2 separate regions of the Homo sapiens genome follow, and region 1 is linked to region 2. Evidence: promoter capture Hi-C in human tissues and cell types (Jung and others, 2019). All regions are on one chromosome and are shown on one strand. Each heading gives the region's core, a stretch centred on a gene start or on the middle of the fragment in contact. The rest is flanking DNA. Distances are from core to core; before and after follow the strand shown. Region 1 overlaps LOC101927040 (a long non-coding RNA gene). Region 2 holds the start of IMPA1 (inositol monophosphatase 1).

Evidence for each region. The method cuts DNA at HindIII sites, captures the fragments that hold promoters and counts their contacts. A contact is called where the count stands out against the background at its distance.
Region 1: a contact is called between a fragment that was not itself captured here and the fragment with the promoter of IMPA1 in region 2, in 1 of the 25 tissues and cell types used here (mesenchymal stem cells).

Annotation. Positions count from the first base shown.
Region 1 is chr8:79,824,487-79,832,322 of GRCh38, reverse strand. All of the region lies in intron 2 of LOC101927040 (a long non-coding RNA gene), which reads left to right. Among named protein-coding and RNA genes, the nearest start is that of LINC01607, 60 kb to the right of the region's middle. The HindIII fragment of the contact is 3,269 bases long and covers 300-3,568 here.
Region 2 is chr8:81,682,529-81,689,796 of GRCh38, reverse strand. It overlaps IMPA1 (inositol monophosphatase 1), which reads left to right and starts at 3,472. Exons shown (of 9, transcript NM_005536.4): 1 at 3,472-3,545. RefSeq lists an enhancer at 3,226-3,726. The HindIII fragment of the contact is 9,069 bases long and covers 1-7,268 here.

The DNA.
Region 1 (7,836 bases), core at 685-3,184, 1.9 Mb after region 2:
TGGGGAACGTTTTCAGTGTCTATGGGATGTAGATTCAGGGGTGAGAGGCAAGCAGGATGAGGGGCTTGGTGCAGCTTCTGTCTCCTGCTCAGAAGTTTCCTCCCCCCACCCCTGGCCTTTCCTGGTCGGCATCAGTGAGCTCAGGGTCTCCTTGCAAGGGGGCTGGGCTCTCTGACTAGAGGCATGCTGCTGACCTAGAGATAATTAACTGATAGTTTCTACCACGACCTGCTGACCCCTTTATAGGAACCACTGTAAAGATAAAAAGACTTTCTGTTTTCTTTTTTCTTAGCATCTCCGGTGCCTGAAACCTTCACAGTCATCATGCTATTTCGTGTTTATCATTAATCTTCCTGTTGAAAGCATCCCCTTTTCTCCCCTCTTGTTCCTGCCCTGGCCCATTTGCAGTTCAGGTGATCGACCCTCTCAGAAAATGCTCCCTGTGAAGCCAAAATGTGAGTGAGTTAGACTGGGCCATTTCCAGCACGCCCCTCGTCACCCCGTGCCTGTGCAGTGTCACCTACTTCTGATAACAGCCTTGGACTGAGGGCGCAGGAGAGAGTGGTTTTATGCCACAGATACTTCATTCGTCAATGCTGTCTTCCAAATCTTTCTCCTCATGTCCATTATCACAGGCCTAGAACAATTGTTTTTATTAGACAGTTTAATACATTGCCTCTTAGACCAGCAGGCGAACCCGAGCATCTTTCTGACTCCTGTGCTGTCATTAACATGCTTCTTAATTCAGAACAGCTGTTCCTCCTCCCACTCCTCCTCTCTCCCAATCTTTGCTCCTTAGACAAACTTTGCTTATTCAGAAACTTTGGGAAAAAAGATTTTTGAGTAAATGAGAGTTCTGGAAACATAAGGATTTGTCTCTTTCAGCATGGACTTTTTAATTTTAAACATTTTTGATGAAAATCTTTCCAAAATACATTGTTTAGTACCTTCTTAAACAGAGAAAATGGATGAAATTTAATTTTTTTCTTGATGCCTTGGGATCATGACAGTGAACAAGATTTTGTTACTCTGCTGCAATGCAATAGGGCACATAAAGGGTCCCAAATTTTCAGATTCTGAAGTTATTTTGAAAACTTTTAAATATACTCTCGTCTCCCTGCTTTTCATCAGTCCATTGACCAATCACTCTGGTTATCAATGCACCTATTTCCAGAAATTCTTCTACCCTAATTTTCTGATGTTCAGTGTTTACTGTGAGCATAGAAGACCAATATAGACACACACTTACACGTGTGTGCATGCAGATGTGCATTAGAACTGTGTGTAGAGAGGTTTGAGGAGGTACCTGAGAGTTTCCTATGAGTAAATGGAATATGTTATGAGTTCTCTGTTTTGGTTTTCCAGAGACTGCTTTTGTTAAATTTTTTGCTCATTTTAGGAATAGAAAGTTGCAAGACAAATGAGTTTAATAATGATGAAAAGCTCCCAGATTTCTAGGAGCTATCTATCTTTCTAGAAAGTTCTTCCTCGGTTCATTTTTTTTTTTTTTTTCACTTAATGCAAGTATAGGCAATGGTTACTAAAAGGAGATTCCTTTTATGAGAGGCTTGTCATTTCATTATCCCAACTTCACATACAAATGATTTCATTATCTTTAAAAATGTTGTCGTGATATTCTCAAACTATTGTCATTTAAAAAAAAAACCCACCAGGTGCAAAAACAAACTGCAACCACAACAGCTAAATCTGTCTCTTTCTCTCATTGTCCTCTTTGGCAAAGATCTGTGGAAAGCTGAATAAATGAACAGGGCCATTTGACAGAGTGTAACCCACACCAGACCTGTTGTGCAATGCCTTGAACGTAAGTCCTTTTCAACTAAACGGAGGTATATTTTCTTTTATATTGTTGACTTTGACCCTGAAGCTTAGCAAAGAACACTTGTGCAACATTTTCTGGATCAATTTATCATCTGCTCAGAGCAGACATGCATTTTTTCTCATCATTAAAGGGAAACCAAACCCATCAACATAATCCCCGATTCTGCTTTGTTTCTTCCCAGTCCTTCACATTGTAGATTCTGAAATATTAATGAAGAGATGTGAAAGTAATGTGCTCTATTCTCACACCCAGCCCCAGTGGGAGGAAGGATATGGCCAGGGAGTAGGAGAATGAGAAATGTCCTCGTTTTGCAAAACAACGTTGCTCAAAGTCAGGTTGTTGGATTCTATCTCTGAATATCCCAAGGTGGTGATCTAAAATCCAGATTTCTGGGCTAATCTATACCTATGGAATCAATATTTCTGGAGGATGAGGCTTTGTCATTTACATTTTAAATGGATGCATTTAAAACTGATTGGACTAGATGGTGTCCGAGCTTTTTCCTTACTTAACAAATCCTATGCTGCTGGCTCTTATGTGAATACTGATAATAAACTGCTTACAGGCTGGGCATCATGGATCATGCCTGTAATCCCAGCTATTTGGGAGGCCAAGGCAGGAGGATCGCTTGAGCTCAGGAGGTTGAGACCAGCTTGGGCAACATAGTGAGAACCTGTTTCTATGTAAAAAAATTAAATTTAAAAATGTACTTACAGAATACTCATAATGAACTTTATTATTGTAAGAATAATAACTTTTGACTGTATAGCAGCATTTTTAACTTTTCAAAGTGTTTTCCTATTTTCCTATATATAACCCCCCAGAGGGGGGCAGGGGAGGTCTCATTACCTCCATTTTAGAGATGTAATAAAGTCCCCGAAGCTTAATGACTTGTGCCAACTACATCATAACTTAGTGGTCAGGAGTCAGGACTGGCACACAGGTCTTCTGACCTCATTTCACTGTACATTTGGTGTTCTAAGATCCAAGACACAAGAGGATGCTTTATTAAAGTGTCCTTTAAAAACGGACTTGAGCCGAAATCAGCGCCTTCCAAGCTTCTCCACATGCTGTTGAGTGTGCTGTGCATTTGCTCCTGAGAGACGAAAGCACAGATAAAGATGCCCTGCACACTGGGAGAGAAATGGGAATCTTCAAAACAAAGGAATCTCATTCCTCTTCTGTTCATCCCCTTCAATTTTCTGATCCTTTCCCTCCACTCCCTCTTTCTTGTAAAGACTTAAACTCTGAAATAATTATATGAAATTAAGTCGGTAAAAGCCAGGCTCGTTTCCTTAAGATTGATGTGTTAACATTTGGGGCAGTTTTCTCAGGACTCAGGGAGACGATTATTTCTGAGGTTGGCTGCGGGAAGCTTCCTCTTCTCTAGGGAGGGGTGAGGTTCCCTCCCAGGACACCTCCCTCCGTGACACAGCCTAACTGTTAGCAGAAGTTCATAAAAAAAGTTGGTTGATTTTTTTAAGTGCTGGAGACTTTTCTCCTTTTAATTCCGGTCATAACTACCCACTGTCCAAAAAAAGGAGACACAGCAGGCTCTAAACTCTCTCTGAGACTGAATGCAAATTGAGTGTCTGGGAGTCTGAGGGAGGTGCGGGAAACACTTTCCAGCTCCACTGTCCTGTTTTTATCTGTAGATCAAGATAAGCGAGCGGGTGGATTGTTAGCAAAAAGGAATCTCTTCATGCAAATTATAATTCTCTTAAAAAAAAATAAGCATGAAGGTGTGACCCTGCCTGTCACTTATCAATCTGTGCAGTAAAACTAATGGAAGGTTGGAAGACTGGGATCCTTTGCATTGGAAAATGGCTTGAGTGCCCGTGCTGAAGCCACGCTGAATTTCCCGTGTTCCTGCAGCAGCCTGGGAGGAGACCGGCAGGGTCACATTCTGGTGGTGCCTGCCTGCCCTGACACATCATTTCTAATTATGATGCCTTTGTAAACCCCTTCCCTTTTGCTTCATAGGGCTTGTAAAAGGTACCCGCAAACCTCTGCCTTCCTGTGCCTCTCTGCCCCGAGGTAGAAATCCTCCTCTTGCAGGAAGTGCAAAGCAAAGTTCAAAGCTTTCTTAGTCAAAAGAAAGTGCGCCTGATCCAGGATAACATGATTAGGCAACAATTAGACCAGAAAAAAAAAAAAAAAAAAAAAAGCCAGGGCCCTGCATCACTGGCCAGTGCTGGCCTTCTGCAATCTCTGCTCTTCTAAAAGATACTTATTATTTCCTTGTTCAGTATGAAGATGCAAACCCAAATTGAATACCATTTAGGGTCAAAGCCACAAGCAGCTTTGGGCTGTCAAGGGATGGAGAGCTCTGATGAGTCTGTGATGGAATGTCCCCACCAAACACAGAGGCTAAGGGATGGAGCTTAAGAGAGGGATGACAAAGAAAGGAAGCAAGGGTCCACAGACCCAGGGCAGGCCCTGTCGCTCTGGTGACTTTCTGAATGACTGCCAGACTTGTTTCCCCCCTATAAGACAAGCCCAGTTCAACCCACGTTAAAAGGGGGTTAAAAGAGGTCATAAATCTTTCTGGGCACTGAAGATCCATGGAAAACGTGGCCTGATGTCTCTGACATCTGTTTTGGGTTCTCAGCCTCAGCTGGCCCCACTGCCCTTTCTCCTGCGATGACTCACAGGCCCCATTCAGGCCACCGAGTGGCAGGTATAGAGTGTCTCACCTCGGAGTACTGGGGATGAGGGGTGAGCGTCCGGGCAGCAGGCGAGCCCCCAAGGCTGGCCCGCTGACACCGTAAGTCTATACCCAGGGGCTGGTGGAGGGGAGGCTGTGGGATTGATGGTGTAAATGGGCAGCACACACAGCCTGCAGAGGGGAGGCCGGCGGTGGGTGGGAGAGCGCTGGCTGAGGTTGGTCACACGGAGATTGAATTTCAGCTGAATTAGATCAGAGCTGTGGGAAACAGCACCTCCTTCACACACACAGCCGGTCTCATAGGAAGATGTGGGAGGGCGGCTGGGGAGACAGAGGCAGGCAGCTGCGATGAAATACCGAAGTCCGCTCACAGCAGCTAACAGCTAACTTAATTACTCTACTACCTCTCCCCAGCGCACTGGCCAGAATTCGCAGACCCTAGGGTTTTAGACTGAAACGCTCCATGGTGCCAGGGAAAGATGGGGTGGTCAGCATTTAAAACACACCATGGTTTGGGAGTGAGGCTGCGTGTCTCTCTAAAGGAGGAAAAGCGTGATTATGAAAGTACAGGAAAGGCAGGGAACTTTTAGATCCACAGCTGCAGAAGGCAAACTCCGGAAAGGACTTACGTGGCTTTCACTGCTACCTTTAGGGTTTGATGTTTTATAGCATTTTATTAACATGCAACGCAAGCTCTCAATACCGTAACTGTGTTCGCTGCTGCTGCTAGGAACTGTTCCTCTAATCCCCTTTCTCTGCTTAATAACCTGACGCCATTTCAGTGACCCAGAATACCAGCTTTTCTTGGGAGGCCTTGGAGGAGTGGAAAATTGGGAGAAAGTTTTAGAATTAAAATGGGAACACTTGCAGTCCTATTAAAAAGGGCAAGAAGTCAGCTGCTTTGAAATCCACCCCCTCAGCAGGGGTGGGGAAAGCCTTTCCAGGAGACAGTGGGAACACATTTGTTCCCTAAGCTGGCACCAGAGTGGCTTTCTCCAGGGCAGCCAGGGCCTGGCATTCTGTATACGCCATTTGAATCAGGGAGCCTTCAAATGATCCTTTTTTCTCTTCCTGTCACTCAACAACAGGCTGGCGGCAAAAATTTCTACGGCAGTTTCTCTTGAACCAGGCAGAAAACAACCCCTGAGGCTGCTCGGTGCTCCCTAGTCTCCTGGTTTGCATTGCACATCCATTTTGAGCCTGCTGCTACTGATGAGAAAATGACCTCAAACAACTGCCCACTAAAGGTCCCATGTTGTGACGATGCCGGGGGCTTTCTGCATAGCGCTCCGCTTCTCAGACTGAGCAGCTTCTGGAGTTTTGTACAATGCCTGGGCCTGAGGAAACCTGCCAGGATATTCCTGGTAGGATGAATGATCACCCCCCCGTAACAGACAGAGACACCCAGAGCAGAGACAGAGTTCACACTGTGGGATCTGACTCAATGTTTGAATTCTTAGGAGCTCACCACTTCATTGGATTTCTCATGACTGAAAAAAAGAGACCACTAGAATCTGGATGAGATGAGAATTTAGGTGCTGTTTTAGATTCCCCTAGATTAGGTGGATACCCAAAAGAGTGTGTGGAAAAACTGCAGGGAGGGCCGGGCGCGGTGGCTCATCCCTGTAATCCCAGCACTTCAGGAGGACGAGGCAGGCGGATCATCTGAGGTCAGGAGTTCGAGACCAGCCTGACCAACATGGAGAAACCCTATCTCTACTAAAAATACAAAAGTACCCGGGCATGGTGGCACATGCCTGTAATCCCAGCTACTCTGGAAGGCTGAGGCAGGAGAATCGCTTGAACCCAGGAGGTGGAGGTTGCAGTGAGCCAAGATCGCACCACTGCACTCCAGCCTGGGCAACAAGAGTGAAACTTGGTCTCAAAAAAAAAAAAAAAAAAAAAAACCTGCAGGGAGTCTGAGTCCTCTGAAATGGGATGAAAAATTTATATGTAAAAATTGTGTATATTTCCTCCAGCCCCAGGAAGAGAGCCCTGTGTATTCTGTTGGACAGATCTGCTGATTTTCAAGTTTCCAAGACTCCTCCAGACTTAAGAAGTACTGTTTTATATTAAATATTTTGCAAAGGTAATTTTAAGAGGGAGCATTGGTTTCCCTCAATCACAGGCTCTGCAAAATACAATGCGCTGTCTACTGTATACTTTGCCACATGGAGCCTGGCTGCTTGACTCATGTAACTCAACGTAAACAGTAACTGGGAGAGGACACACACGAGCAGGCAGGGTATGCCCACAGGGTCGCTGCTTGACATGGCTATGCTGCGGCTAGCGTATGGCTCTCCCTTGGATGGATCTATTCTGTTAATACCTCTGTCCCAGAATTTGTAGTCCCAAAGTGGTGCTCTGGGAGGACGTATTAATGAAAAGAAAGAGCATAAATGAGAACCTTAAAGAGTTTACAGGGTTCAGGCTTGATAAACCTCTTGGGTAAGAAAGGTAGGTAGATATAGAGCAAGATTTGCATCCATCACATTGGGAAGAATGTACACTGGCCTGTGGGTACAAACCCCTTTCTGCCAGGTAGGGAAGGTTCTTGGGGGAAAGGTGGTTGTCATAATACATCTTAAACAATAACAAAGATAACAGAATCCCATAGTTTCCCTTTCTGGAGTTGATGTTTGGATGCAAATTACAGGCATGTTTTGCCTTAAACAAATCCAGTGTTAGGCCGGCGCGGTGGCTCATGTCTGTAATCCCAGCACTTTAGGAGGCCAAAGCAGGCAGATTGCTTGAGCTCAGGAGTTCAAGACCAGCCTGGGCAACATGGCAAAATCCTGTCTCCACAAAAAAATACAAAAATCAGACCAGGCACGGTGGCTCATGCCTGTAATCCCAGCACTTTGGGAGGCCAAGGCAGGTGGATCACAAGGTCAGGAGTTCAAGACCAGCCTGGCTAACATGGTGAAACCCTGTCTCTACTAAAAATACAAAATTTGCTGGGTGTGGTGGCACACACCTGTAATCCCAGCTACTTGGGAGGCTGAGGCATGAGAATTGCTTCAACCCAGGAGACAGAGGTTGCAGTGAGCCAAGATTACGCCATTGCATTCTAGCCTGGGCAACAAGAGCGGAAACTCCATCTCAAAAAAAGAAAAGAAAAGAAAATCCAGTGTTGATGAGTTGATTTCCCAAAGCAGATGAACTGGGAAGTTGGGTGTGGTGATTATTTACATTAAATAGTAGCTACTGGTGGTCGGCGTGGTGGCTTACACCTGTAATCCCAGCACTTTGGGAGGCCAAGGTGGGCAGATCACGAGGTCAGGAGATCAAGACCATCCTGGCTAACACGGTGAAACCCCGACGCTAC
Region 2 (7,268 bases), core at 2,223-4,722:
ATAGATGGGAGTCAGCTGACAGGAAAGGATACCAAAGGCCTCCAAGAGGGAACTCCCCTTAGGGAAGGTTGGAAGAGTGAGGAGCTGGACATCATGCCAGGAAGCAGAGTTTGTGCTGCTGTCCCCTGCCCCCGACAACCACCTGGGCACAGCAGATATTCTTAGGTTTGGGAACAATGGCTGCAGATGGGACTGTAGTTTTAAAAAATGCCCCTTTGGGAACTCAAGGGCCATGCATCCTGTACTGAGGTCTCTGCAGCCATGTGAACTACCTTCACAGCATCAGAGAAAAGATCCTTTGGATTTGTGAGACCAGTTTCCAGCCCCACTATAATCGAGCCTGAACACTAAGACTTCCCTGTGCACCGGCAGATTTTCACTTCACTTTCGGTAAGGCATTTGGAAGCAGAACGGCCTCTTTGGACTGAAAAATACTGAGTGAGTTACCTGAGAACCAATGTGAAGTAGCTGTTGAGGTGAGGCCTCTTGGAAAAACTGGACTTCCTGCTCACCTGACATAGGAAGCTTGTAAGGTTTTCATTTGAAGGGATATTTGATATTTAGTTTATTTTACTTCAAATTGTTTATGCTGATTTTAGCAGTTTTTTCAAGTCACTGAAACCACATTCATTTACATAAACTTAGATGACCGATGACTTTTCTGTTAAAACTTTGGAAATATTAGTTGGTTACGAATGAGCACTTGTCAGCATGCGGTTGGCAATATTTTTATTTTAAGAAGATTGGCAATGAAGAACCGAAAAACTAGCCTCAGAAGCCTTTTTTTTTTTTCTAAGAAAATAAAGTATCATTTGATAGACATCCAAACCGGATACCTAAGGCATCACTCTTTTTGGATTAAAGATGTTTATTGGTCCTTGTGAGGTGTGAGAATTGAGTCCAGTCCAAATTACTCATCTCTAAGACATTTCATTTGAAATATATTGGTGACATTTTGTCTTTTGATTAAACAAACAGAAACAGTAACTTCCTAAGCAAAGAGCCAAATAACTAACTTACTTTCCTGGTCCAGTTGTAGCTAGGACATCTTATATCTGTGCAATGCTTTTTGCACTATGATGGTGTATGTACCACGATGTCGCTCTTTCTTTCTTTCTTTCTTTCTTTCTTTTTTGAGATGGAGTTTCACTTTTGTTACCCAGGCTGGAGTGCAATGGCGCTATCTCGGCTCACTTCAACCTCCACCTCCGGGGTTCAAACGATTCTCCTGCCTCAGCCTCCCTCGTAGCTGGGATTACAGGCACCCACCACCATGCCTGGCTAATTTTTGTATTTTTAGTAGAGACAGAGTTTCACCATGTTGACCAGGCTGGTCTTGAACTTCTGACCTCAGGTGATCTGCCTGCCTTGGCCTCCCAAAGTGATGGGATTACAGGCATGAGCCACTGCACCTGGCCAACTCTTTCAAGAAGAAGAAACATTTTAAGACCATAACTAGTCCTTGTACCTCATATAATGTGATCTCATTGTGCCATATATTCTCAGTGTGTAAACTTTTGTAGGGCCAAAGAAAAAACTTCCCTTTTGTCCTCTGAAGGTTTGGTGAAAATCAACTGACAAAAGGCAGATAAATAGAAGAAAAGGATTTTATTTGATCATAGTTTTATGTGACTTGGGAGCCTTCAGAATGAAGACCCAAAGGTATAAGGGGACAGTCCATTTTATGCTTAGTTTCAACAGCATATGGACAGCTGTGTAGAATATGGTTGGACAAAGAGGGTATAACCTAATGCTATTAGACTGGGGAAATCCAGTAAGACCTGTCTGCTTAGATTCTTCTTGGCCTCTCTCCATAGGACCCTCTTTGGAATGGGGGTCTTATGACCTAAACTCAGACAGGGTGAGTCATATAATTTCTTCGTGGTCAGATTTTACATAGAAACACAGGGAGAATGCTAGAGTAATATCTATCTATCTATCTATCTATCTATCTATCTATCTATCTATCTATCTATCTATATCTCTCTCTCTATATATATATATTTTTTTTTTGAGACGGAGGCTCCCTCTGTCGCCCAGGCTGGAGTGCAGTGGCGCGATCTCCACTCACTGGAAGCTCCACCTCCCAGGTTCATGCCATTCTCCTGCCTCAGCCTCCCGAGTAGCTGGGACTGCAGGTGCCAGCCACCACACCCGGCTAATTTTTTTGTGTTTTTAATAGAAACGGGGCTTCACCGTGTTAGCCAGGACGGTCTCGATCTCCTGACCTCGTGATCCGCCTGCCTTGGCCTCCCAAAGTGGTGGGATTACAGGCGTGAGCCACCTTGCCTGGCCTAGAGTAGTATTTTTATGTTTTATGGCTGGCTTTATAAAAAAGGGGTCCTGATTTCTGGGACCTGATTTGGGAAAGAGGAATTCTAGCTTCTATGACTAGTCTGGGGAAGAATGTGGGACCAGAGACAGGAGACCAAAAGGAGTCAGAGGAAAATTTTTCCTTCTAAGGCTGCTTCTGAGGCCTTCATTGTGGGGTATCATTTTCTGAACCCCAAAACTTTGAACTCAGTGTGTTTCACTCTCTGCTCTTGCTGTGTGACCTGAGGACAAATCACTTAACTACTCTGAGCCTCAGTTTCCTCATCTGTCTGACAAAGCTAATCATACCTTTTTCAAGAAACTGTTAAAACTTTAAGGAAAATAATGCATATAAAAACACATTTCGGCCAGGCGTGGTGGCTCATGCCTGTAATCTTTGGGAGGCCGAGGTAGGCGGATCACTTGAGTCCAGGAGTTTGAGACCAGCCTGAGCAACATGGTGAAACCCCGTCTCTACAAGATACAAAAATTAGCCGGGCGTTGTGGCAGGCGTCTGTAATCCCAGCTACTCAGGAGGCTGAGGCATGAGAATCGCTTGAATCCAAGAGGCGGACGTTGCAGTGAGCCGAGATCGCGCCATTGCACTTCAGCCCGGGCGACAAAAGTGAAATTCCGTCTCAAAAAAACAAAACAATAAAACCCCACACAATTGCTTGAAGCATAGTAAGTCCTCAATAAATAGTATGTAAGTAAATTATCAAGAATTGGGCAGTTGGTTCTGGTTATCAGTTTATTTTTTTTTAATCTAGTATAGGTTTACCAGCTTTAGGTTAGCACCTAAAAGCTGCATAATCGGAATCATATCTGCAATCTGGGTTTTGTCAAAATAGTACTATAGAATAAATGGGAGAAAGAAGAAAGCAAGCTAAATGGGAAACCGTGAATGAATGGAGGACGAAAGAAGAAAAAGGCAAAGTAAAGAGAGAAGTAATGTTTAAAAACTGAGAGATGAAAAGACAAGCAGGAGAAAAGAACCAGAAGCTAGAATGAAGAGGCAGTATCCCATGCTCCAGCGCGGGTCAGGACCCGGCCCGGCCTGGCAGAGGCTCGCAGGGCGCAGCTCGGGGCGGGGCCCAGCAAAGCAACCACGCCCCCTCAGGAATGGAGTTTTTAAGGGCGGAACTTCCTGTTGCGAGTAGCCCCTCTACCTCCGGAAGAGACGAGTGCGGTAACACCGTTCACAGAGCTAGCCGGACGTCCTCCGACTCAAGGTGAGACCGTTATTTTCCTCACCGCACCCTCCGGGTTCAGCGGGCGCTGTGGGTTTCCAGGGAGGCCCCTTCCCTCCTCAGGAGCGGGCGCGAGCGCCGTGCGCGGTCGGCGCCTAGGGTGGAGGCAGCCTCTGGGTGACCCCTGCCTGCTGCGTTATCCGGAGCTGCCCTGGGCGACCGGGAACAGTTCCGGCATTGGAGTAGCGGTTCGCTCACGCGACCTCACTTAACCTCTGTGGCGGCTTCTGTGGAATAATTGCCCCTTTTTATGTCCCCAACTCCGAAAAGCTCCTAGAAACTTGGTGCATCCCCAGGCCCAGGTAGTCACTCTAAGTGATGGGGCAGCGCCCAGGTCCTGTGCTGCCCGCAGTCGCGGTGCTGGGACAGGTGGCAAAAAGGAAGGTGGCCTGGCTCCTACGCTGGAAGGCTGTGACCAGGACAGAAACAGCAGGAAACAGTTCAGGTGTTTATGGCTTTGGGAAAATGAAAGTGAGTAAACTACGGACCCTGCCCATCAATAAATGTACTGTGATTTATATATATATAACTATTCATATATTATATATAACTATATATAAAAATATATATAAAATGTACTTATATACTTTATATATAGTACATAAATATACTTATGTATAGTATATATACTTATATATAGTACATAAATATACTTCTGTATACTTATATATAGTACATAAATATACTTACGTATATATACTTATATATAGTACAGAAATATACTTACGTATATATACTTATATATAGTACAGAAATATACTTAGGTATATATACTTATATATAGTACAGAAATATACTTAGGTATACATACTTATATATAGTACCTAAATATACTTAGGTATATATACTTATATATAGTACATAAATATACTTACATATATACTTACATATAGTATATAAATATACTATATGTATAGTACATAAATATACTATGTATAGTATATATACTATATATACTATATATAGTATCTATACTTATGTATAGTATATATAGTATCTAAATATACTTATGTATAGTATATATAGTATCTAAATATACTTATGTATAGTATATATAGTATCTAAATATACTTATGTATAGTATATATACTATATATAGTATCTAAATATACTTAATGTATACTATATATAGTATCTAAATATACTTATTTATAGTATATATATCTAAATATACTTATGTATAGTATATATACTATATATAGTATCTAAATATACTTACGTATAGTATATATAGTATCTAAATATACTTATGTATAGTATATATACTATACATAGTATCTAAATATACTTATGTATAGTATATATACTATACATAGTATCTAAATATACTTATGTATAGTATATATACTATACATAGTATCTAAATATACTTATGTATAGTATATATACTACACATAGATACTATGTATAGTATATATACTCCACATAGTATCTAAATATACTTATGTGTAGTATATATACTCCACATAGTATCTAAATATACTTATGTGTAGTATATATACTCCACATAGTATCTAAATATACTTATGTGTAGTATTTATACTCCACATAGTATCTAAATATACTTATGTGTAGTATATATACTTATGTGTAGTATATATACTTATGTGTAGTATATATATACTAGATATATATATCTAAAGATACTTATGTGTAGTATATATACTACACATTAGTATCTAAAGATACTTATGTGTAGTATATATACTACACATAGTATCTAAAGATACTTATGTGTAGTATACTGTAGTATCTAAAGATACTGTGTGTAGTATACTATATATAGTATCTAAATATACTTATGTATAGTATACTATATATAGTATCTAAATATGTATGGTATATATACTATATATAGTATCTAAATATACTTATGTATGGTATATATACTATATATAGTATCTAAATATACTTATGTATGGTATATATACTATATATAGTATCTAAATATACTTATGTATGGTATACTATATATAGTATCTAAATATACTTATGTATGGTATATATACTATATATAGTATCTAAATATATAGTATATAAAGTATATTTACTGTATTATATATGTGTATGTGTGTGTATGTGTGTGTGTGTGTGTATGTGTGTATGTGTGTGTGTGTGTATATATATATATATATAGTTTGCATCCACCATTCCTGGCTCATAACTCCCATAGCCCTTGACAGGAATCTTGGCCCACCTTTCTGTCTTAGAACTAGCCATGAAGAAATTCTCTGACCTACCTTGTCTGACTGTAGATCGTAAGACCTCCATTTCACAAGGGGTCTTGCCCCATATACAGGAGAAAGGAATGCTGGACAGAGAGGCCAAGATGAATCCGAATGGACAGTCCTTGCTGGGTTTCCACAGTCAGTCTGTTCCATTTGGATCATACTGATTTTGTGGGATCACATTTCTACACAGTTGTCAATCATGCCTATCCAGTGATTATCCAGACTCAGGACCTCAGTTGCTGTCTACTCAAGTAACTTACATGTTTCTACATGGAGGCCATACCTCTCCTGTGAGCTCAGGATCCATGATTCAGCTGCCTAACTGACATCTTTTGATTTTACAGAGGCCTCTCATCTTCCGCTAATTAAACTCCTGATCTCTCAAACTCCTACCTATATCCCAAACTTGACTCTTTTTTTGTTGCTCCCTGTTTCAGTAGACTGTGACGGTTATCCATACAGTTGCCAGAGTGGGAAATCTGGACATCCAGATTCAGAGGAAATCTGAACTCTTCCTGTCCCTGGTACTCTGTAGCCAATCTGTTAGATTCCCTCAAAACAGGTATCTCTGACTCTCTTAACTTCTCTACCAGCAAAACTTCCCTCCCAGGTTTCAGCCAATCATCAGGTATCCTCCCACTACTGCATCCTGAATGTAAATCTGCTGACCCTCTACCAACACCCACTTTCTACCCTTCTGTTGAGTAGCCACAATGAAGTGATTCTTGAAGCCCCTTCAATCAATGTCTTATCCCTAAGGCCCCCCTGTAGAGGATGATCCCCACTACCTCCCCAGCTTTATCTCTCCTGTTTCCCTTAATCTGAGCTGTCACTCTTAGGCTGTTCAGTTAGTCTTCATGTACCAGGCATCCTGCAGTTGATTGAGTTCATGCCTGTTCACTTGTTCTCATCTTGGTTTAATCTTGTCTTCAGGGAAACCTGATCTGATGCCTAAGTCCAGGTGAAAGCTCCCCTGTTAGATGCTTCTCATTGCACTTCTTCTCCTTAACTTATATTATTCCAGTTGTTATTTTGCATGTAGTCTTTAGTTTTTGATTGATATTGAGTCCCCTCCTAGAAAGTGTGAACAGGACCTGATTTTCCTCCCCATGGTGCAGTGTATAGCATACAATAGGTATTCAGTAAACATCTATTGAAGGATGAAGGACATAGTGACTTCTGGGTGGAGAATCCCTAGAAGTAGCTTTTGAAATGGGTCCTGAAGAATTTGTAGAGTTACATTAGTGCTGTTAGAAGGCGGGGGTGTGAGTGGCTTGAGCTGTTTCTGGCAGGAAAGCAGGTACAGCTTGAGAACATCTAGTTCTGTTAAGACTAGTGGAGCAGAATGGGAGTAAGAGTGAAAAAAAAAAGTTTGGAAACAATTCTTGAAGAGCTTGAAGGAGTTGCTTATATGACTCATAGAGTGGCTTCCTTTAAAACAAAATTTTAAAAAATGCTTTAATCAGGAAGAAAA